Regions from separate parts of the Homo sapiens genome. Here regions 1, 2 and 3 are each linked to region 4. The links are contacts of gene promoters, found by promoter capture Hi-C in blood cells and fetal thymus (Javierre and others, 2016). All regions are on one chromosome and are shown on one strand. The core of a region is centred on a gene start or on the middle of the fragment in contact, and the rest is flanking DNA. Distances in the headings are between cores, read along the strand shown. Region 1 overlaps HINFP (histone H4 transcription factor). Region 2 overlaps CBL (Cbl proto-oncogene). Region 3 holds the start of HMBS (hydroxymethylbilane synthase). Region 4 holds the start of BUD13 (BUD13 spliceosome associated protein).

What was found. The method cuts DNA at HindIII sites, captures the fragments that hold promoters and counts their contacts. A CHiCAGO score of 5 or more calls a contact.
Region 1: a contact is called between a fragment that was not itself captured here and the fragment with the promoter of BUD13 in region 4, in 1 of 17 cell types (monocytes). The highest score is 8.3, in monocytes.
Region 2: a fragment that was not itself captured here is called in contact with the fragment with the promoter of BUD13 in region 4 in 1 of 17 cell types (monocytes); the score reaches 5.6 in monocytes.
Region 3: the fragment with the promoter of HMBS here is called in contact with the fragment with the promoter of BUD13 in region 4 in 1 of 17 cell types (monocytes); the score reaches 6.4 in monocytes.

Annotation. Positions count from the first base shown.
Region 1 is chr11:119,126,218-119,131,501 of GRCh38, reverse strand. HINFP (histone H4 transcription factor) reads right to left here. Exons shown (of 10, transcript NM_198971.3): 2 at 4,377-4,567; 3 at 548-777. The coding sequence starts at 4,557. Among named protein-coding and RNA genes, the nearest start is that of HINFP, 7.3 kb to the right of the region's middle. The HindIII fragment of the contact is 7,014 bases long and covers 1-4,836 here.
Region 2 is chr11:119,271,963-119,276,638 of GRCh38, reverse strand. It overlaps CBL (Cbl proto-oncogene), which reads right to left. Exons shown (of 16, transcript NM_005188.4): 4 at 2,615-2,771; 5 at 1,686-1,807; 6 at 505-642. Among named protein-coding and RNA genes, the nearest start is that of MIR6756, 39 kb to the left of the region's middle. The HindIII fragment of the contact is 1,148 bases long and covers 2,561-3,708 here.
Region 3 is chr11:119,081,849-119,087,234 of GRCh38, reverse strand. HMBS (hydroxymethylbilane synthase) reads right to left here and starts at 2,354. Exons shown (of 14, transcript NM_000190.4): 1 at 2,169-2,354. The coding sequence starts at 2,201. It overlaps VPS11 (VPS11 core subunit of CORVET and HOPS complexes), which reads right to left. Exons shown (of 16, transcript NM_021729.6): 16 at 5,263-5,386. RefSeq lists enhancers at 2,077-2,126, 2,056-2,753. The HindIII fragment of the contact is 13,649 bases long and covers 1-5,386 here.
Region 4 is chr11:116,769,262-116,774,264 of GRCh38, reverse strand. BUD13 (BUD13 spliceosome associated protein) reads left to right here and starts at 1,278. Exons shown (of 10, transcript NM_032725.4): 1 at 1,278-1,443; 2 at 4,043-4,136. The coding sequence starts at 1,301. It overlaps ZPR1 (ZPR1 zinc finger), which reads left to right. Exons shown (of 14, transcript NM_003904.5): 14 at 1-466. BUD13-DT (BUD13 divergent transcript) reads right to left here and starts at 794. Exons shown (of 2, transcript NR_186226.1): 1 at 754-794; 2 at 60-355. RefSeq lists an enhancer at 730-819 and a silencer at 940-1,139. The HindIII fragment of the contact is 6,866 bases long and covers 1-4,180 here.

The sequences.
Region 1 (5,284 bases), core at 80-2,579, 2.4 Mb before region 4:
GGTGGGTAGAGGGACTCACCCCTATGTGCCCGAAGAATTCTTGGCTCTCTCCCAAATTAACTTGATGGGGATGGGAAATTTTGAGGAAAGGCACTGCACAGAAATGGAGGAGTGGCCGGGTGCGGTTGCTAAACCCTGTAATCCCAGCACTTTGAGAGGCTGAGGCAGGAGAATCACTTGAGGCCAAGAGTTCGAGACCGGCCTGGGCAACACACCCAGACCTTGTCTCTACAAAAAATTTAGAAGTTAGCAGGGCATGGTGGTACATGCCTGTAGTCCTAGCTACTTGGGAGGCTGAGGTGGGAGGATTGCTTGAGCCCAGGAGTTCAAGGTTACAGTGAGCTATGATTGTACCACTGCACTCTAGCCTGGGCTTCAGATCAAGAGCCTGTGTGTAAAAAATAAACAAATTTTAAAAGAGCAAAAGAAATGGAAGAGAGATACTAGCAGGAATCTTGGAAATATAAGGCATCCCTGAAAGGGACAAGGCATCAGAGTTAAGACCCCCAGCTTCCTTCCACCCCAATTACTGGCACTGCCTGCTGACCTCACAGTGCTCCCACAGACACAGGAAGTGGTCAGGGATATCAGGGATGACGTTCCGGCTCTGGAAGTCCAGGATGCAGGGGCCAAGGTCAGCCTGGCTTTGCAAGGCCTGCAGCCCCCACTGTTTCAGCTTGGTGTGGTAGCAGTGGAAGTAGACATGGCGGATGAGGTCAGCAGAACTGTCCAGAGAACAAAAGCCACATTCCTGCCACAAGCAGGAGAATTCTTCCTCTGTAGAAAGGGGTTTAAAAGGAAGAGTCTGACACTTTCCAAGGCTCAGGTCACCTTCCACCTGCAGCACTAAACAGAGAGTGAGGAGGCTGGACTCGTGAGGAGGCTGGACTCTAACCAAATTACCAGGGTTCATTTAGCAAATACCAGTATTTAATGACCATAAATTGTGTGCCAGTTAGAGGGACTATAACAAGTAAAAAGTGTCCCACTCCTTGCCCTCACATAGCTTTCAGTCAGGGAGAAAGCATATTCATCAAATAATCAGATCTATAAATATAAAACTGCAACCAGTGATGAGTGTTACAAAGCGGGGATATACATGGTGCTATAAAAGCATTAAACAGAGGTCATTTGACATGGTGTTCTGAGAAACGTCCCCATGTTGAACTCTGAAGTACGATGGATGAGTATCTGTAAATAGGTGAAGAAGTGTGGTCTAGGCAGAGGTGAGAGTGTGTGCAAGGCCTATGCCAGAAACAGACAGCAGAAATGGCCGGCACGCAAGTCCTCTGACTTGAGTTTCTGCAGTTCCTGATGAAGATGCTGCCTCTCGATCTGACACCTCCCACTTCTCCTTGTAAAACCACCACTCCTCCTTCCCCTCATGTTTTGCTCAAGATCTGCCTTCTCCAAGAAGGCCCCATCAACTCTTCCAATCCATTTCCTATCTCTCTAGCATCCCTAAGCACTGTATTTTCAGCGCTTTATATAAGTTAACTTGTTTTGAAACACAGATACTTTAGAAAATATAATCATTCCCCAATTTTGCCTTTGTATAAATATGACTTGAATTTTGAAACTATCAATTATGGTTCATAGTCATCAGACTTAAAACAGAATTTGGGGTGGGAGAAGGAGAGCTGCCTCCATATTTCCTGTAGAATAGAGTTTTTCAGACTGTGTTGTGACCCACTAGTGGGTTAGGAAATCAGTTCAGTGAACTATCAACCACATTTTGGGCCGGGTGCGGTGGCTCACGCCTGTAATCCCAGCACTTTGGGAGGCCGAGGCAGACAGATCACGAGGTCAGGAGATCGAGACCATCCTGGCTAACACAGTCAAACCCCGTCTCTACTAAAAAATACAAAAAAAAATTAGCTGGGCTTGGTGGTGGGCGCCTGTAGTCCCAGCTATTTGGGAGGCTGAGGCAGGAGAGTGGCATGAACCCGGGAGGCGGACCTTGCAGTGAGCGGAGATCGAGCCACTGCACTCCCACAAAAAAAAAAAAAAAGAAAAGAAAAATGTATTCCTGCCAGATGCAGTGGCTTATGCTTATAGTCCCAGCTGCTCAGCATGCTGAGGCAGGAGGATCACTTGAGGCCAAGAGTTTAAGATCAACCTGGTAACATAGCAAGACTCTGTCTCTAAAAAAAAAGTGGCTTTGGTCGGGCGCAGTGGCTCACGCCTGTAATCCCAACACTTTGGGAGGCCGAGGCAGGCAGATCACAAGGTCAGGAGTTTGGGACCAGCCTGGCCAATATGGTGAAATCCTGTCTCTACTAAAAATACAAAAATTACCCGGGCGTGGTGGCGGGCACCTGTAATCTCAGCTACTTGGGAGGCTGAAGCAGGAGAATCACTTGAACCCGGGAGGCGGAGGTTGCAATTAGCCGAGATCATGCCATTGCACTCTAGCCTGAGCAACAGAGTAAGACTCCATCTTACTCTGAAAAAAAGTTTTTTTTTTCCTTTTTCTTTTAAATCCTGCCACACTTATTAGTACCGTGACTTTGGGCAAGTTATTTTATTCCTCTGTGCCTCCGTTTCCTTATTTGTAAAATGGGTATAATAATAGTGCCTATCCCATCCTGGCTAACACAGTGAAACCCCGTCTCTACTAAAAATACAAAAAAAAATTAGCTGGGCATAGTGGCATGTGCCTGTAATCCCAGCTACTCGGGAGGCTGAGGCAGTAGAATTGCTTGAACCTGGGAGGTGGAGGTTGCAGTGAGCTGAGATCGCACCACCACACTCCAGCCTGGCGACAGAGCAAGACTCCATCTAAAAATAATAATAATAAATAATAATAATAATAGTGCCTATCTCATAGGCTCTTTGGGAAATAGTGCTTTAATGTAGGTTTAAAAAAGTACTGGCCGGGCATGGTGGCTCACGTCTATAATCCCAGCACTTTGGGAGGCTGAGGCGGGCGGATCACCTGAGGTCAGGAGTTCAAGACCAGGCTGGCCAACAGGGGCATCCTGGCTAACATGGTGAAAGCCTGTCTCTACTAAAAATACAAAAAAAAATTAGACGGGCGTAGTGGCACGCACCTGTAATCCCAGCTACTCGGGAGGCTGAGGCAGAAGAATCGCTTGAACCGAGGAGGCAGAGGTTGCAGTGAGCCGAGATTGCACCACTGCACTACAGCCTGGGCAACAAGAATGAGACTCCATCTCAAAAAAAAAATAAAGTACCCAGCAATACTTAACACACAGTAGGTACTATAGAATACAGTTCACTATTGTTATTGTTTTCAGATTGGATTTTATTAAAATCCCAGTTATTTGCTATTGATAAAAGGCATACCTAAAACATAAGTCAGACAAAGGTTAAAAAGTGAGAGATGGGGCCAGGTGCGGTGGCTCACGCCTGTAATCCCAGCACTTTGGGAGGCCGAGGTGGGCGGATCATGAGATCAAGAGATTGAGACCATCCTGGCCAACATGGTGAAACCCCATCTCTACTAAAAGTACAAAAATTAGTTGGGCGTGGTGGCGCGCGCCTGTAGTCCCAGCTACAAGAGGCTGAGGCAGGAGAATTGCTTGAACCTGGGAGGCAAAGGCTGCAGTGAGCCGAGATCGAACCATTGCACTCCAACCTGGCAACAGAGCAAGACTCCGTCTCAAAAAAAAAAAAAAAAATTGGAAGGTGGGAGTGGGGTTGGACTTGGTGGCACAAGCCAATAGTCCCAGCTACTTAGGAGGCTAAGGTAGGAGGATTGCTCGAGGCCAGGAGTTTGAGATCAGTGGGCAACATAAGCAAGATCCTGTCTCTAAAAAAAATTTTTTTAAAAATTGGCGTGTGGTGGTGGTACATGCCTGCAGTCCTAACTACTCGGGAGGTTGAGGCAGGAGGATCCCTTGAGTGTTGAAGGCTGCAGTGAGCTATGATCATGACACTGGACTCCAACCTGGGTGACAAGATGAAGCCCTGTCTCTAAAAAGTAAGATGTATTTCTGACTGGTTGCAGTAAAAGAAAAAAAAAATTGGGAATACTAGAAGAGTAAAAAAAAAAAAAAAAAAAACACAACAACAAAACACAGGTTGCCAACAACTTGTACAGAATGATTAAAAAAAAGCACATTCATCTGTATTTAAATATATGTAAACACAGGCAGAGAGATGTCAAAAACAATGTTCACTAAAGTACTGTCAGCAATTACTTCTTGATGGCAGGATGGCAGATTTATTCCTTATATCCTTGTTGACTGAGTTTTCTATAAATGAGTTTACAATGTTTTTATATACAACAAAAACACAATTAGGAAAATAAACCACCATTCTCTTAGGCCGCCTTCTCCCTCTAAGGAAAAGAAAGTCAGATTTTCCACCTTTCCTTGAGCTCCTCCCCTTCCTGTGTCCTGCTCTCTTACCAAGTGGGTCATCCTCCTCTTCCTCTTCCTCCTCCTCCCCAGAGCCATGCAGGTGCTGCTGCAGGTGCTGAGTGACATGCTCAAAGAACTTTTCCATGGTTGAGCACACAAAGGAGCAGGACCCCCACTCACACTGTAGCCACAGATTCTCCTTTCGGGGAACTTTCCCAGGAGGCGGCATGGCCTTCACCCTAGAGGAAGAGGAAGAAATCCACAGCTGCAAGAATTCCACCCAGGTGCTGCTGAGGGCAAAAAGCTGGGCAGGCAGCCTGCCTAGAATCAGCACGTGTTGTTCCAGTGACCCATGAGAAACCCTGCCCTTTTACAGTAAGGATGGAGTAATTCCTTAAATCCCTGGAAGATGTCTGGTGTTTGTGGAAAGGGAAAACAAAAACTAACACTATTGAGTGTGTGCCAGGCACTGAGCTAAACGCTTTAACAGACATTTTCTCATGAAGCTTCAGAGCAACCCACCAAGAAGGAATTATTCCTCTGTGAGGCAGAACAATGCTCAGGTTCAAACAGATGGCTTTTGAGAAGGATCAGGGTTCAAATCCTGGCTCCACTGTCTACCATCTACTAGCTGTATGACCTTTGTCAAGAACTTAACTTCTGAATACTCTCATCTGCAAAATGAAGATAATAAATCTTTTTGTTTTTAATTTCACACTTACTATATGTCAAGCACCACAGTAAGCATTTTATTTGCATTATGTCATTTAATTACCAACACCACCCTTTGCCGTAGGTGCTTTTTTTTTTTTTTTTTTTGAGATTGAGTTTCGCTCATCTCCCAGGCTGGAGTGCAATGGCTCGATTTTGGCTCACTGCAACCTCCGCCTCCCGGGTTCAAGCGATTCTCCTGCCTCAGCCTCTTGAGTAGCTGGGATTACAGGCGCCCGCCACCA
Region 2 (4,676 bases), core at 1,885-4,384, 2.5 Mb before region 4:
TCTCAAAGGAATAGCAATTCTGGAATAAATAAGGACTTAGTTATAAATAGCAGCATAGGTTACAGTAGCCCAAGGCCTGAAGAAATGCTGCTGAACAAAAGCGAAGTGAGGATGAAAGCAGATGAAGGCCACTGAGGCCTATGGCTATTAGGAACATTGAATCACTTGAATGCCGACTAGTTAAATAACTGGTCAAATTTCCTGCTAATTGGTATATTTTAAAACCTAACACAGGCTTGAAAATAAGTTAACATTTGGAAAAAAGAAAGATAAAGTTTATTTATGGTAATAACTGAAGTGGTAGAGAATAATTTCACTCATGGAATCCCTAAAAAAGAAAAACAAAAGTCTTCCAGGACCTGAAGGTCAAATCAATATCATCTGTTAATATTTTCCTGAATCTTAGTCTGCAGTTTAAGAAACCTGGAATAAAGTCATTAATGATGAGGTTGGACAGCCCCTAAGTTCCCAGACTCTAACAGATGGTATGCAGTAGGTACTCACAAGCCTTCCCTGAAGCCATCAATCAGTGCTTGGAAGAGAGGTTTATTGTGAGGGATTGTCTGGAGAATGTTCCCATCAGCAGTAACATACCCAATAGCCCACTGACCCAGACGAGTACAGCTCAGCCGGAAGATATAACTATGAACAGACATAAACAGAAGCTTTAGTAGATTATGCTGGTATTACGGTGGAAGGCAAGGCAAGATACAGACAAAAATCAAAAGAACCATCAAGAATAACAATAACTTTCTTCCTTTCTTTCTTTCTTTTTTTAAGATGGAGTCTGGCTCTGTCACCCAGGCTAGAGTGCAGTGGCACAATCTCAGCTCACTGCAGCCTCCACCTCCTGGGTTCAAATGATTCTCCTGCCTCAGCCTCCTGAGTAGCTGGGACTACAGTATGTGCCACCACACCTGGCTAATTTTTGTATTTTTAGTAGAGATGGGGTTTCGCCATGTTGGCCAGGCCAGTCTTAAACTTCTGATCTCAAGTATCTGCCCACCTTGGCCTCCCAAAGTGCTGGGATTACAGGTGTGAGCCACCACACCCAGCCAAGAATAACTACTTCTGAGCTTCAAGTCAGTGACAAGAAAAAAGAAAGAAAATATTTTTAAAAAGAGAGTAACTTCTTCCATGACTCCACACCAGAAGCAAAAGACACATAAACTCTATTCTTTTTTTGTTTTTGTTGTTTTTGAGATGGGGTTTCGCTCTTATTGCCCAGGCTAGAGTGCAATGACATGATCTCGGCTCACTGCAACCTCCACCTCCCAGGTTCAAGTGATTCTCCTGCCTCAGCCTCCTGAGTAGCTGGGATTACAGGCACCCGCACCACACCTGGATAATTTTTGTATTTTTAGTAGAGACAGGGTTTTACCACTTTGGCCAGGCTGGTCTCAAACTCCTGACCTCGTGATCTGCCCGCCTCGGCCTCCCAAAGTGCTGGGATGACAGGCGTGAGCCACTGTGCCCGGCCATAAATTCAATTCTTAAGTGGCCTGAAAACATTTATCAAATTATAGGATCTGAATTAAGTCAATACGTCTGATAAACAGGTATCAATCCTATTGCAGAACCTTGGCTATTGCGAAACTAATTAAGGTCATGTTTCTTCTATACTAGCAGAAGTCTCAAGATAACGAAATTCAGAAGAATAAATCTCTTTGCGTCATTGAACTGACCTGCCAGGTTTGTGAATGAATTTCTGGAGCCGAGCTTTCACTTCGTCATACGTCAAAAAAGCCATGTAGCCAGGATGAGTTACAGCAAGGCTGTTCCAATTCCTGAGCAAAGAGGACCAGGGCTAAAGAAACAAGATCAATCACAGACTATTCAGGTCAGATGTACAACCAACTCAGAGGGCAATGAGAAAAAAAAAAAACAACACCAACTCTCAGTTCATTGTCAGAAATTTTTAATTATACCATCACTCAGAGAGAAGACACATGTGTTCAGGAGATTAAAAACTCTGAAAAGCTACGAAGAAAAGAATATATGCTTATAGGGAGAAACTTGACACAAAATGAAAATTCTAGAATTTGTAAAGCAGCTCTAATTAACAGTAGTGGGGTTGAACAACAACAAACTGAAAACCAGGATAGGGCCTATAGGTGCAACTAATAAGTTCCAAATAAATGTGTATGCAAATTGGCACAGACAACACCAGAGAAAGCATTATTTTTAGAGAAAAAGAAAGGAGTTGTTTTTGAAGCATCTAAACATCTCAATATTAACAGTCAATTTCAATAAAACAGGAGAAACAGTTGCAAACATACACAAATATCCAATATCAGAAAACTAATATATTCATATTCTGGCCATTCTACAAACATTAAAATGATACAAAAGAAGAATATTCAATAACAAGGAAAGATGTGAGGAGAAGAAAGCAGTTGGTATAGCTGTCATTTTCACTATATATACATACACACACATACATATATTTTTAATATGAGATAGTTTTAATCTTTTTTTTGGCATAGTTCCTAAAATGAATTAAAATACTTTCATACAGACAAAAACCCCAAATGTTATTTAAAAAAAAAAAAAAAAAGCTTTCTCTTCACCGAAGTAGCAGTAACCAGTTTAGTCAACTTTTTTAGTGTCCTACCTGAAAGAGTCGGGTAAAGATGTCAAATTCAAAAACCGAAATATAATCATTGCAGGTCAGATCAATAGTGGATTTCAGAGCCATGGCCTCCAGCCCAGAACTGATGGGATGCACTTCATGTAGAGCCTGTCGAAAGCTCTTCCAAGGGACTATTGTCCTGGGGAGGGGGTGGAGAGGAGGCATAAAGTGAAATAACAGAGATAATTCCAGGCATCGCCATAATCAAGGAAAGGAAGGAGAGCCACATTAAGCTCTCAATACCAATTTCAATTCTCGTAATTCAAAATACAGGTCAACTTCTTTAAGAAAAGAAAGAAGGGGACCAGGAGCCATGGTGCATGCCTTTGGGAGGCCCAGCACTTTGAGAGGCCAAAGTGGGCAGACTGCTTGAGCCCAGACTGGGCAATATGGTGAAACTTTGTCTCTACAAAAACAAACAAACAAACAAAATTAGCCAGACTAATTAGTTCCAGCTACTCTGGAGGCTGAGGGGGGAAAATCACTTGAACTTTGGAGGCAGAGGTTGCAAGTGAGATCGTGCCACTGCACTACAGCCTGGGCAACAGAGTGAAACCTTGCTGCAAAACAAGAAAAGAAAAATAAAAAATAATTTACAAATAAAGACCAGGTCTTGTAATGTCATCCAGGGTAGTAGTCTCAAACTTCTGGCCTCAAGAAATCCTCCTGCCTTGGCCACCTAAAGTGCTGGGACTACAGGAGTGAGCCACTGTGCCTGGCCAAAAATGAAGGCCTTTAAAGAGAAACTTGGGCCTAACACAGTGGCTCACGCTTGTAATCCTAGTACTTTGAGAGGCCAGGGGGAAAGATTATTTGAGGCCAGGACTTCGAGACCAGCCTGGGTAACACAGCAAAATCCTGTCTCTGCAAATTAGCTGGGCCTGGCAGCACACACGTGTAGTCCCAGCTACTTGGGAGAACTGCTTGAATCCAAGAGTTTGAGGCTGCGATGAGCTATGATTGATTGTACCACTGCACACCAGACTAGGCAAGAGAGTGACATCCTGTCTCAAAAAAAAAAAAAAATAAAACGACAAAACCTAGGATATTTATATTTATACTTAAAAATACAAGCTTGATGCATAAATCAACCTATATAATATATAGAGAGACAATACAGCAAAACGGAAAAGGTAAGCCACAGACTGGGAGAAGATATTTGTAATGTAAGTATCTAACAAAGAACTAGTAACCTATAATAACAGAAAGATAAACCACTCAATAAGAAAATGGGTAAATCAGAAATAGGAACAGGCAAGTAAGAATAAGAATCTTGACTGGTCATAAAGGTGAGAAGAAGCTCAATCTCCCTTCTCATCAGGGAATATAAAGCAAAATATTACACCAATTCACATCGCCAGCGTTAGCCAAACTGTGGGGCTACTGTAAAATATGAACTGGTACACCATTTTGGAAAGAAATTGGACAATACTTAGCAAAGCAAAAGATGTAAAACCCCAAGACTTAGCAATTCCACTCCTGCGTATGTAAATAAAGACAATTTCTTGCATATGAAGACAACTTAGATATTGCTCACTGCTGATAGCAAATAATGTGAAATGTACATGTCCATTAAGAGCAGAATGGGGCTGGGCATGGTGGCTCACGCCTGTAATCCCAGCACTTTGGGATGCCGAAGCAGGTGGATCACGAGGTCAGAAGTCGAGACCATCCTGGCTGACGTGGTGAAACCCTGTCTCTATTAAAAATGCAAAAAATTAGCCGGGCGTGGTGGCAGGCACCTATAGTCCCAGCGACTCAGGAGGCTGAGGCAGGAGAATGGCATGAACCCAGGAGGCAGAGCTTGCAGTAAGTGGAGATCGCACCACTGCACTCCAGCCTGGGCAACAGAGCAAGACTCCGTCTCAAAAAGAAACCACAATGGATGGGGAGAGAAAGGGAAGAGTATTCAAAGAGCATGGGTTTCAATTTAATCTGCAAAACTATTTTTTAAAAACAATGAACAGAGCAAAAACTTAATATTTAACCAAAGCCAGGAAATACATACACATATATTACTTTTCTCAGAGTTCCCAAATTTTAA
Region 3 (5,386 bases), core at 1,105-3,604, 2.3 Mb before region 4:
TTTTTTTTTTTTTTAGACAGAGTCTCACTGTTTTGCTCAGGCTGGAGTGCAGTGGCGTGATCTAGGCTCACTACAACCTCCACCCCTGGGTTCAAGCTGGAACTACAGGCATGTTCCACCATGCCCAGCTAATTTTCACATTTTTAGTAGAGACGGGGTTTCACTGTGTTGGCCAGGCTGGTCTCGAACTTGTGATCCTCCTGCCCCAGCCTCCCAAAGTGCTGGGATTACAGGCGTGAGCCACCACGCCTAGCCTGATCCCATTTCTTTCTACATCAGACAGTAGCCACTGTAGATACTGATACTGTCGACAGTCAACATTCCCTGATCTGGGATGTTCATCCTATGTAGTTCCTTTTTTTTTTTTTTTTGAGACAGAGTCTCCCTCTGTTGCCCAGGCTGGAGTGCAGTGGCATGTTCTCAGCTAACTACAACCACTGCCTTCCAGGTTCAAGCGATTCTCCTGACTCAGCCTCCCAAGTAGCTGGGACTACTACAGACGCACACCACCATGCCCAGCTAAAATATGTGTGTGTGTGTATATATATATATATATTTTTTTTTTTTTTCTTTTTTTGAGGGGGAGTCGCGCTCTGTCACCCAGGCTGGAGTGCAATGGCGCGGTCTCGGCTCAGTGCAACCTCCACCTCCCAGGTTCAAGCGATTCTCCTGTCTTAGCCTCCCAAGTAGCTGGGACTACAGGCGCATGCCACCACGTCGGCTAATTTTTTGTATTTTTAGTAGAAACGGGGTTTCACTGTGTTCCCTAGGCTGGTCTCGAACTCCTGAGCTCAGGCAATCCACCTGCCTCGGCCTCCCAAAGTGCTAGGATTACAGGCATGAGCCACTGTGCCCGGCCTAATTTTTATATTTTTAGTAGAGACGGGGTTTCACCATGTTGGTCGGGGTGCTATGGAGTTCTTTTGCACCCAGACATCTGGGGCCTCTATTGCCGAAGCAGGTGACAGCTTTCTGCCCTCAGACTCTGGTCTACTCCATGTGATCACTCCAATAAATTAACCCTGGGAGACCCTTTGCAAATTAGGCTAGGCTTGATATTAAACGTGGCCACCAAAATTCTGGGCCACAGGGAGCCCACAGAAAGGACTCTAAGGTCCCAGAACTACTAGGTTCAAACAATTCCTTAAGTTCATTGAATGTGCACAGCATATCCAAGTCAAACCGTTTCATTAAAAAATAAAACACTGAGCACTTCTATGTTGAAGCTATTGCTTTTGCATATTGTTGTCGTCTCAAAAATCCTATCAGGTGGACAAGACAGGCACCTTTGGGACCATGTTACAGAAGCAACGGGTGGCATCAAGGGATGAGGTGACTTGCCTAGGGTCACAGAGCTAATAACCGAAAGAGAGTTGGGGCCACAATTCAGATCTTCCTACTCCTAGTCCAGGGCTCTGGAATGACTGCAAGAGCAAAGATCCCAGCCCTCACCAACAGGCTGGACAGGGGGAGATTAGCAGCTCCCCATCTCTTTCTTATCTCGGCCTGGCAGTGGCCTCCACCAGCTCTGCAGTTTGTCTGTGCACAAGCCCAGGGCTCGGCAAGCAGGCTCGTAATGGAAAGGCCCACGGCGGCCTCCCACCCACGGTAGTAATTCAGTAGGTGTGTCACAGCTGGGGACTTGGAGCGTTGGCTGTGGCTGGGAGACCACTATAACACAAAAAGAAGGCGCACTTCTAAGACGTTTGTGTGCAGTTCGGAGGCTTGGCTGATACTCTCTCCTATGAATCAAAAGTGGAACGTGTCTTCCCAAAGGGGCCGTATCTGCATCCGCCTCAGCCCAGCCTCGAATGAAAGGACCCCGTCTGTGTAGACGAACGTTCTTGGTCTGGGTCACTAAATCTAGAGCCGTGCATCCCAGGCCTGATGGGAATCCCACCCAGATGCCCGCAGGGACCGGAGTTCCGTTCCAAACAATCCTTCCACTCTTAACCCAGTATCACCGCTCTCTGATTTCCCCATTCCTTCCGGAGGGCAACCGAGCTACTGGCCCTTTAAAAGCTACTCGGACCAAAAAAAAAAAAAAAAAAAAAAAAAAAAAGATAGCCGTTCTGACCAATAGACGACTGAGGATGGCAACCTGGGGCCAATCGCTGCACGGCTCGTCCAGAAGCCCAAAGTGTGCTGGTCACCGGCTCAGCACTCACCGCCGTTGCAGCCGCATTGCCGTTACCAGACATGGCTCCGCTTGGAAAGTAGGCTGTGTGTGGGTGCCGCTAAGGTCCCCCGGCCCCGGGAAGCCGGGGGCTCCGGCCGGCGAGTACCGGGGACACGTGGGACCCGAGGTCGTCCTACAGTCTGACTCCTGGTCTCCGCAGAGCCTCGCGTCACTTCCGGCGCCCTCCCTCGAAGGGGAGGTCCCTCCCTCTGGGCGGGAATTGGAACATTGCGACAGTGGACCTCCCCATTCGACCACCCCATTCCCCAGCTGTGACATGAGCAAGTAGTGCAGCTTCTATGGCGCTTCCTTTGCTCTGTTCAAACTTAGCTTTGCTACAACCTTGAAATAGGCAGCATTTTTCTTTTTGATACGGGGTCTCACTGTGTCCCCAGACTAGAGTGCAGCGGCATGACCACGGGTCACTGCAGCCTTGACCTCCCGGCTTCAGCGATCCCCCCACCTCAGCCTCCCAAGCAGCTGGGACTACAGGCGCACATCACCACGTGGGACTAATTTCTAGATTTTTTTATAGAGACAGCGGGGAGGTGGCCTCACTATGTTGCCCAGGCTAGTCTCGAACTCCTGGACTCAAGCAGTCATCTCGCCTTGGCCTCCCAAAGTGCTGGGATTACAGGCGTGAGCCACTGGCCCAGCCAGCATTTCAATTCTTAAAATGAGGAAACTGGTTCAGAGAGATTAAAGGTCATGCCTAAAGACAAGTAACTGAAGTGGGAGCACAAACGCTACATGTAGTGAGAAAAGGGCTTGTTAGGAAAAGTGCTTTCCCATGAACATAATTTTTTTTTTTTTTTTGAGACGGAGTTTCGCTCTTGTTGCCCAGGCTGGAATGCAATGGCACGATCTCAGCTCACTGCAACCTCCGCCTCCCGGGTTCAAGCAATTCTCCTGCCTCAGCCCCCCGAGTAGCTGGGATTACAGGCACGCACCACCACACCCAGCTAATTTTGTATTTTTGGTAGAGATGAGGTTTCTCCATGTTAGTCAGGCAGGTCTTGAACTCCTGACCTCAGGTGATTCGCCCACCTCGGCCTCCCAAAGTGCTGGGAGTACAGGCGTGAGCCACCGCGCCTGTAATCATGAACATAATTAACAATCATGATTATTAATAATCACCCAGCTAGGTGCAGTGGCTCACACCTATATTCCCAGCACTTTAGGAAGCCAAGGCAGGAGGATTGCTTGAGCCCAGGAGTTTGAGACCACCCTGGGCAACATGGTGAAAACCTCATCTCCACAAAAAATACAAAAATAGCCAGGTGTGGCGGCACACACCTGTAGTCCCAGCTATTCAGGAGGCTGAGGTGTGAGGATCGCTTGAGCCCAGGAGGTCGAGGTAGCTGTGAGCTGTGGTGGTGCCACTGCACTCTAGCCTGGATGACAGAGTGAGACGCCCATTTTTTTTTTTTTTTTTTTTTGAGATGGAGTTTCACTCTTGTTGCCCAGGCTGGAGTGCAATGGTGCAATCTCAGCTCACCGCAACCTCCACCTCCCGGGTTCAAGCAATTCTCCTGCCTCACCCTCCTGAGTAGCTAGGATTACAGGCACCTCCCACCACACCCAGCTGGTTTTTGTATTTTTAGTAGAGACGGAGTTTCACCATGTTGGTCAGGCTGGTCTTGAACTCCTGACCTCAGGTGATCCGCCCACCTCAGCCTCCCAGAGTGCTGGGAATACAAGCATGAGCCACCGCGCCCGGTGAGACCCTGTCTTAAGAAGAAAAAAAAAATCACCCATGTGCTCAGCACTGTACAAAGAACTGAACACCTATTTGATCCTTAGGCTTTCATAATAGCCACACAGCATAGGTGTTATAATCCCTAACGTACAGATGAAGACACAGGTTGAGGGGGAAAGGGTGGGAGCAGGGTGAGGGATAAGAGACTACACATTGGGTACAGTGTACACTGCTTGGGTGATGGGCACCAAATCTCAGAAATCACTACTAAAGAACTTATTCACATAGCCAAATACCAACTGTTCCCCAAAAACCCACTGAAAAAAATACATCTCAAAAAAAAAAAAAAAACATGTTGAGAAGGTAAGATGTGCCTTAAGTCAAACAGCACAACTAGGATTCAAACCCAGCTCAGTAGATGCAAAGTCTACTCATAGCATAGCAGCTACAATACTGCCACTGTTTTTTAATTTTTTACTTTTTGAGACAGGGTGTCTGTCACCCAGGCTGGAGTGCAGTGGTGTGATCAAGGCTCACTGCAGCCTCAACTTCCTGGGCTCAAGCAATCCTCCCACCTCAGCCTCCTGAGTAGCTGGGACCACAGGCAAGCGCCACCAGGCTGGGCTAGTTTATTTTTATTTCTTGCACAGACGGGGTCTCACTATGTTGCCTGGGTGGCTGGTCTTGAACTCCTGGACTCAAGCGATCCTCTCACCTCAGCCCCGCAAAGTGTTGGGATTACAGGCATGAACCACCGCGCCCAGCCCATGGCAATCCTAAATACTACCTAAACCACAGTGTCAAACTTACGTCCTCCAATTAAACAACGTAGAAGATGAAATTAGGTGAGGCTGTGGGGAAAACGACAACATAGGAGCAATTTTCAGACAGGCAGCACCACCCAAATTACACGGGGACACCTAGCAACATAAACTTTAGCTGACAATTTCAGAGAGGGAAAGGTGTTTCCAGAAAGGACCTTTTATCCCGTTTATCATCTGGTATTAAGTATAGCAAGACACCAACCTACCCATTATTTAAGGTAGGTTAAGCCCAAAGCTCCCTACCAGAATCTGCCTCCTGCTTGAATATTTTGCCCAAACTACAGCCATAGAGACCAGGAAGAGGAAAGAGTAAGAGCTGTTTTGGGGGTCTTGGTCCAGGCTGCTCCTGGAGCTCAGTCATTAGGTCTTTTGCAGAGGTTCTTCAGTAAATTGAACTGTATGCGATGCCACAGGCCCCACCCATTACCAGAACGAGACTGAGTCAACATGGTCTCCAAGAAAACCGTAGGAGGGAAGTGGAACGCCAGGAGAGCAGAGGGAAGGAAGTCCATCATGCAGTTAAGAATCACCAGGAAGTCCCCAGAAAAAAATCCTTAAGCTCCCAAATCATTATATTCTTTTATTTATAGACTCTGAGAGCAAGGACCCAAGCACAGCCTGGTGCTCTTGGATAGAGAAGAAAGCAGCTATTGTCCACACTCAGAGGTTGCTGAGGTGCCCTCC
Region 4 (5,003 bases), core at 29-2,528:
ACTTGAAGTTTGCTAAGACAAATTTGCTTAAGTGCCCCCCCACCGAACTACTACATAAATTAGTGAAGGATGTTTTACTTAATTTGATTTTGGTAATCATTACACAATGTATAATTATATCCAGTCATCACATTGTACACCTTGAATATATATAATTTTTTGTCAAATAATAAAGCTGGGAAGAAAACGATAAAACTGACAATCTAACATATATGATGAGGTAAAAAGATCTGGTATTTCAAGAAATTTGGATGACCTCTTGCACCCCACTTCGCTAGCCTCTACTCCCTAGAGTCATGTTCTGACTATGTGAAGTTGAGCAACTTCCTTAATCTTGCCACGCTTCAGTTCTTATCTGTAAAATATGATAATGAAACGATTTGAGAATTGTGAGGGTTAAATGAGATAATTCAGGTAAAGCTCTAAACCCCCTGCAAAGAATAAAGTCTTTTCTTTCCCCCCAAAACTTGAGTGTTAGAATTCATTCTCTCTGGTTTCTCTCTTTTACTATGCTAAAAAATGATCCAGGTCCGTCCTTCTCATTGGCAAGATTGTTTTACAGTTTCCTTCAAGAGATAACTGGGGGCTACTTGTAATAGAACACTAGAAGAGTTACACAGGTCTTAGAAACTACGTTTTTCATAGTAATTATGTTGGTTTGCACTTCCTGGCTTCCTTTCTTGGACGGTAGGTACCTGGAAGCCTAGTGGAGCAGATTCCCCCCACTTAAAGATACTTATAAAAATAACGAACATAGTTCCGATGACCATGTGCCCAACACCGCTCTGCGCACTTCACACAGTAATATCATCTCAGCCTGTGACCGTTCCGAGTTAGGTGCCGGGATTCTCCCTGTTTTGTGATAACTTGCCCGAGGTCGTACAGCTAGCCAGCTATGGAACCAGTATTCAAACTCGGCTACGCTGCAGCCCGTGGCCCTCCACTTTCTTGCTCGTGCTCTGGAGTTTAGGCGGCCGATGGGGGCGGGGTCCTTTGGGTCAGGTTGTGGCCTCATAGAACAGCGCTTGCTGCGGTTGGATGGATGGGTGGGTGGGTGGGTGAGTGAATGAAGAGAAGAAACCTGGTGGCGTCGTCCCAGGGCTGTGGAGCGCCCCGAAGGTGCGCACGTCCCTGGCTAGCCTGCGAGCGCGTCCCGGTGGCCGCACCTGCCAGCCGCGCGATTCTTAGCACTCTCCGCCACTTCCGGCCGTGGCCCCGCCCTGTCGGGTGGCTGGCGTCCGTTACGCGTTGAGGCATTTTGTCCCCAGCGCCGACCCGTCTCTCTGCCCCCGCCGCTGCCATGGCGGCAGCTCCGCCGCTTTCCAAGGCCGAGTATCTGAAGCGTTACTTGTCCGGGGCAGATGCCGGCGTCGACCGGGGATCTGAGTCCGGTCGCAAGCGTCGCAAAAAGCGGCCGAAGCCTGGCGGGGCCGGCGGCAAGGGGTGAGTTGGTACCGGCCGGGGCGGGGCCTGCGACGTCTAGCCACCCCTTCCCAACTCCGCCCTCGGCCGCCCGGCAGTTCCTTCCCTCTTGGCGGGTCTCTCGGCTTCTCCGCCGACCCCTGCTCATGCTCAGGGCCCCACTCACATCGCTTGAGGCCCCCCGCCTTGCCTCTGCCGCCCCGCTTACATCTCGAGCCTCTGAGCAGTAGCGTCAGTGCGTTAAAGCCGGGGTGTAACTTTGATTACTCTTTTCCCGCCTTGGTAGACTTCCGTCCTCTCCCATAGAGAATGAATATTGTGCCTCGAGAATAATGGAGCGGATTCAAAGCCTCTGTGCTTGGATCTTTAGGGCCCGGTACCTGCCTGTGGGGATTCCCAGATCCCAAGGACTTGGTTCTGAATCAGAGACCTTTGATCACCTCCTGTTACTCTTAGTAATAGTCCTAACGTGAGAAGCTAACATTTATATAGTTATACTTTTCTTGCCAGGCACCATTATAAGAAATTTAAACATATATAAGTTTATTTAAGCCTCACCACACTACCATGAAGTGGGTATTATTTTCATATGGGACAACTTTGTGGCCCAGTGTAGTGGGCCCTACCAAATCGTTTTCCACCCAGAACCACAGAATGTGACATTTAGAAATAGGGTCTTTGGAGATGTAATCAGTTAAGATGAGGTCATACTTGATTAAGGTGGGTGCCAAATCCAAGATGACTGTTTGCCTTTTAAAAAGAGGGAAGTATGGATACAGACACAGCAACAAAGGAAAAACGACCATGTCTAGATGAAGGCTGAGATTGGATTGGATTTATGTTGCCAAAAGCCAAGGTATGCTTGGGGCTACCAGAAGCTGGGAGAGGCAAGGAAAGATTCTCTGCTAGAGACTTTCCAGGGAGGATGGCCTTGCAGACACCTGGATTTCAGATTGCTAGCTTCCAGAACTGCGAGAGAGTTTCTGTTGTTTTATGCCACGCAATTTGTGGTACTTTGTTACAGTAACCCTAAGGCACTGAGATACCCAGTGAAGTCACATTGTTCTAAAGAACTAGTCCAAGTTCTTTTCTGGTTTGGTGCTTGCCTTATTATTGTCTTCGTCTTTCTGCCTCGCTGACTTGTGTGGATCCTTTGGAGGCAGTGCCATGTGATGAAAGTAGCTTGAGTGTTGGAGCAGCACTGGTCAGAGTTCGAATCCTAGCTGTGCCACTTTATAGGCTGTGTACCCTTGGGCAAGGTGTTTCATCTCACTGAGCTGCAGTTTCCTTATCTTTAAAATGAGAATAATAATAATAATGGTTTTATTAAGTGGTGGTTGTGATTAGAGGGATTGCATTAAGTGACCCTGGCTTTTTGAATAACTTCACATCATGGCAGTCATTGTTATTATTTGGGCTCAGCTATATAGTTTATCCACGTAACAAACATTTATTGAATATTTCGTATTCCAGTTACTGTAGGGTGTTGAGGATGCCTCTGTGAACAAAAAAAACATAGTCCCTGTTCTTGTGGAGCTTATAGATTAATGGGAATACAGGCTTTAAGCAACTAATTACACAACTAATCGATATATTTTCTTTATGATAAATGCAATGAAAGTATTCCAAGAGTTTTTAACAAGGGTTCTTAGTCTTGAGTGAGTGTGGGATGGTGAGGGAATTGGGTGAAGCAGTCAAGAAAAGTTTGCCAAAGGAAGTTAAATTTGTGTTAGGACCTGAAGAATGAGGAAGAGTTTCCTGGAATGAGAAAGAGTTTCCTAGCACTTTGGGAGGCCAAGGCGGGTGGATTGCTTGCATCTAGGAGTTTGAGACCAGTCTGGGCAACATGGTGAAACCCTGTTTCTACAAAAAATACAAAAAAGTAGTCAGGCACAGTGGCACATGCCTGTAGTCCCAGCTACTTGGGAGACTGAGTAGGGAGAATAACTTAACCCCGGGAAGTCAAGGCTGCAGGGAGCCATGATGGTGTCCCTGCACTCCAGCCTGGGCAGCAGTGTGAGACCCTGTCTCAAAAAAGAAAAAGACTAGGGCCGGGCGCGGTGGCTCACGCCTATAATCCCAGCACTTTGGGAGGCCAAGGCGGGCGGATCACGAGGTCAGGAGATCGAGACCATCCTGACTAACACGGTGAAACCCCGTCTCTACTAAAAATACAAAAAATTAGCCAGGCGTGGCAGTGGTCGCCTGTAGTCCCAGCTACTCAGGAGGCTGAGGCAGGAGAATGGTGTGAACCCGGGAGGCAGAGCTTGCAGTGAGCTGAGATCGTGCCACTGCACTCCAGCCTGGGCAACAGAGCGAGACTCCGTCTCAAAAAAAAAAAAAAAGAAAAAGATTGAAAAGAGTAGATCAGGCAGAGGGAAGGAACTGCATATGTGAAAACTGATGTGATAGGAACTTGGCTCCTTTCTAAGCACCAAAGGATGACCAGGGAGGTGTTCAACCAAGGAAGTAGCAGTAGGAGATGAAGTTGACCTTGTAGACAAAGACTGGACCATGCAGGATCCTGTAGGATTTTGAACTTTATTTTAAAACCAATAGATAAATGTTTTTATGCTGGTATCCTAGAATGACTCTTTTTGATCTTCTTATTCTCATTTAGAATGCGGATTGTGGATGATGATGTGAGCTGGACAGCTATCTCCACAACCAAACTAGAAAAGGAGGAAGAGGAAGATGATGGAGATTTGCCTGTGGTATGTATCTTTGGGGCTGTCAGGATTTTGAAATGAAGCAAGCTTCTCAATTTCCTTTTTTTTTTTTTTTTTGAGACGGAGTCTCGCTCTGTCACCCAAGCTGGAGTGCAATGGCATGATCTTGGCTCACTGCAACCTCCGCCTCCCGGGTTCAGATGATTCTCCTGCCTCAGCCTCCTGAGTAGCTGGGATTACAGGCACCCGCCATCATGCCTGGCTAATTTTTTTTTTTTAATTTTTGTAGAAATGGGGTTTCACCATGTTGGCCAGGCTGGTCTTGAACTCATGACCTCAGGTGATCCACCCACCTTGGCCTCCCAAAGTGCTGGGATTACAGGCGTGAGCCATTGTGCCAGGCCAAGCTTCTCAAATTTATTTTTCCAGCTTAGGGTAGATTTGTAGGGGGGTTAGTTGAGAACAGAAAAGAGGTGACAGTTTCCAAAGAGCTGTTTAAAATAGTTTTCTTTGCTGATGCCTATACACCAACTTGTCTCTTTATGGAGGGTCCATCAGCCTAGAAATGAGATGGATCACAGAGAGAGGACTTCTCGACATCAGTGTTAGAGTAATGATGAGACTTAGCTGTGGTTCATTTTGTTGGAATCTTTCTTAAAAACAATGCTGAGGTTCAGTTATAGGGAACTTTTTATTTGCTCCTTTTTTCAGTGCTTTAACTAAGCTTTCAAATTGTATATTCTTGCCTAAGTACTGGAGATATGTAGATTAATAGAACATAGCTGTATTTTAGAGATTATACCCTAGAATGAAAAACTGAATTTCAGATAAATTTCAACAGTATGGTAAATGTTGGGGATGTTTCACATACGTACCAAGTACCATTAGAGCCCGGGGAGGTAGCATACTTTG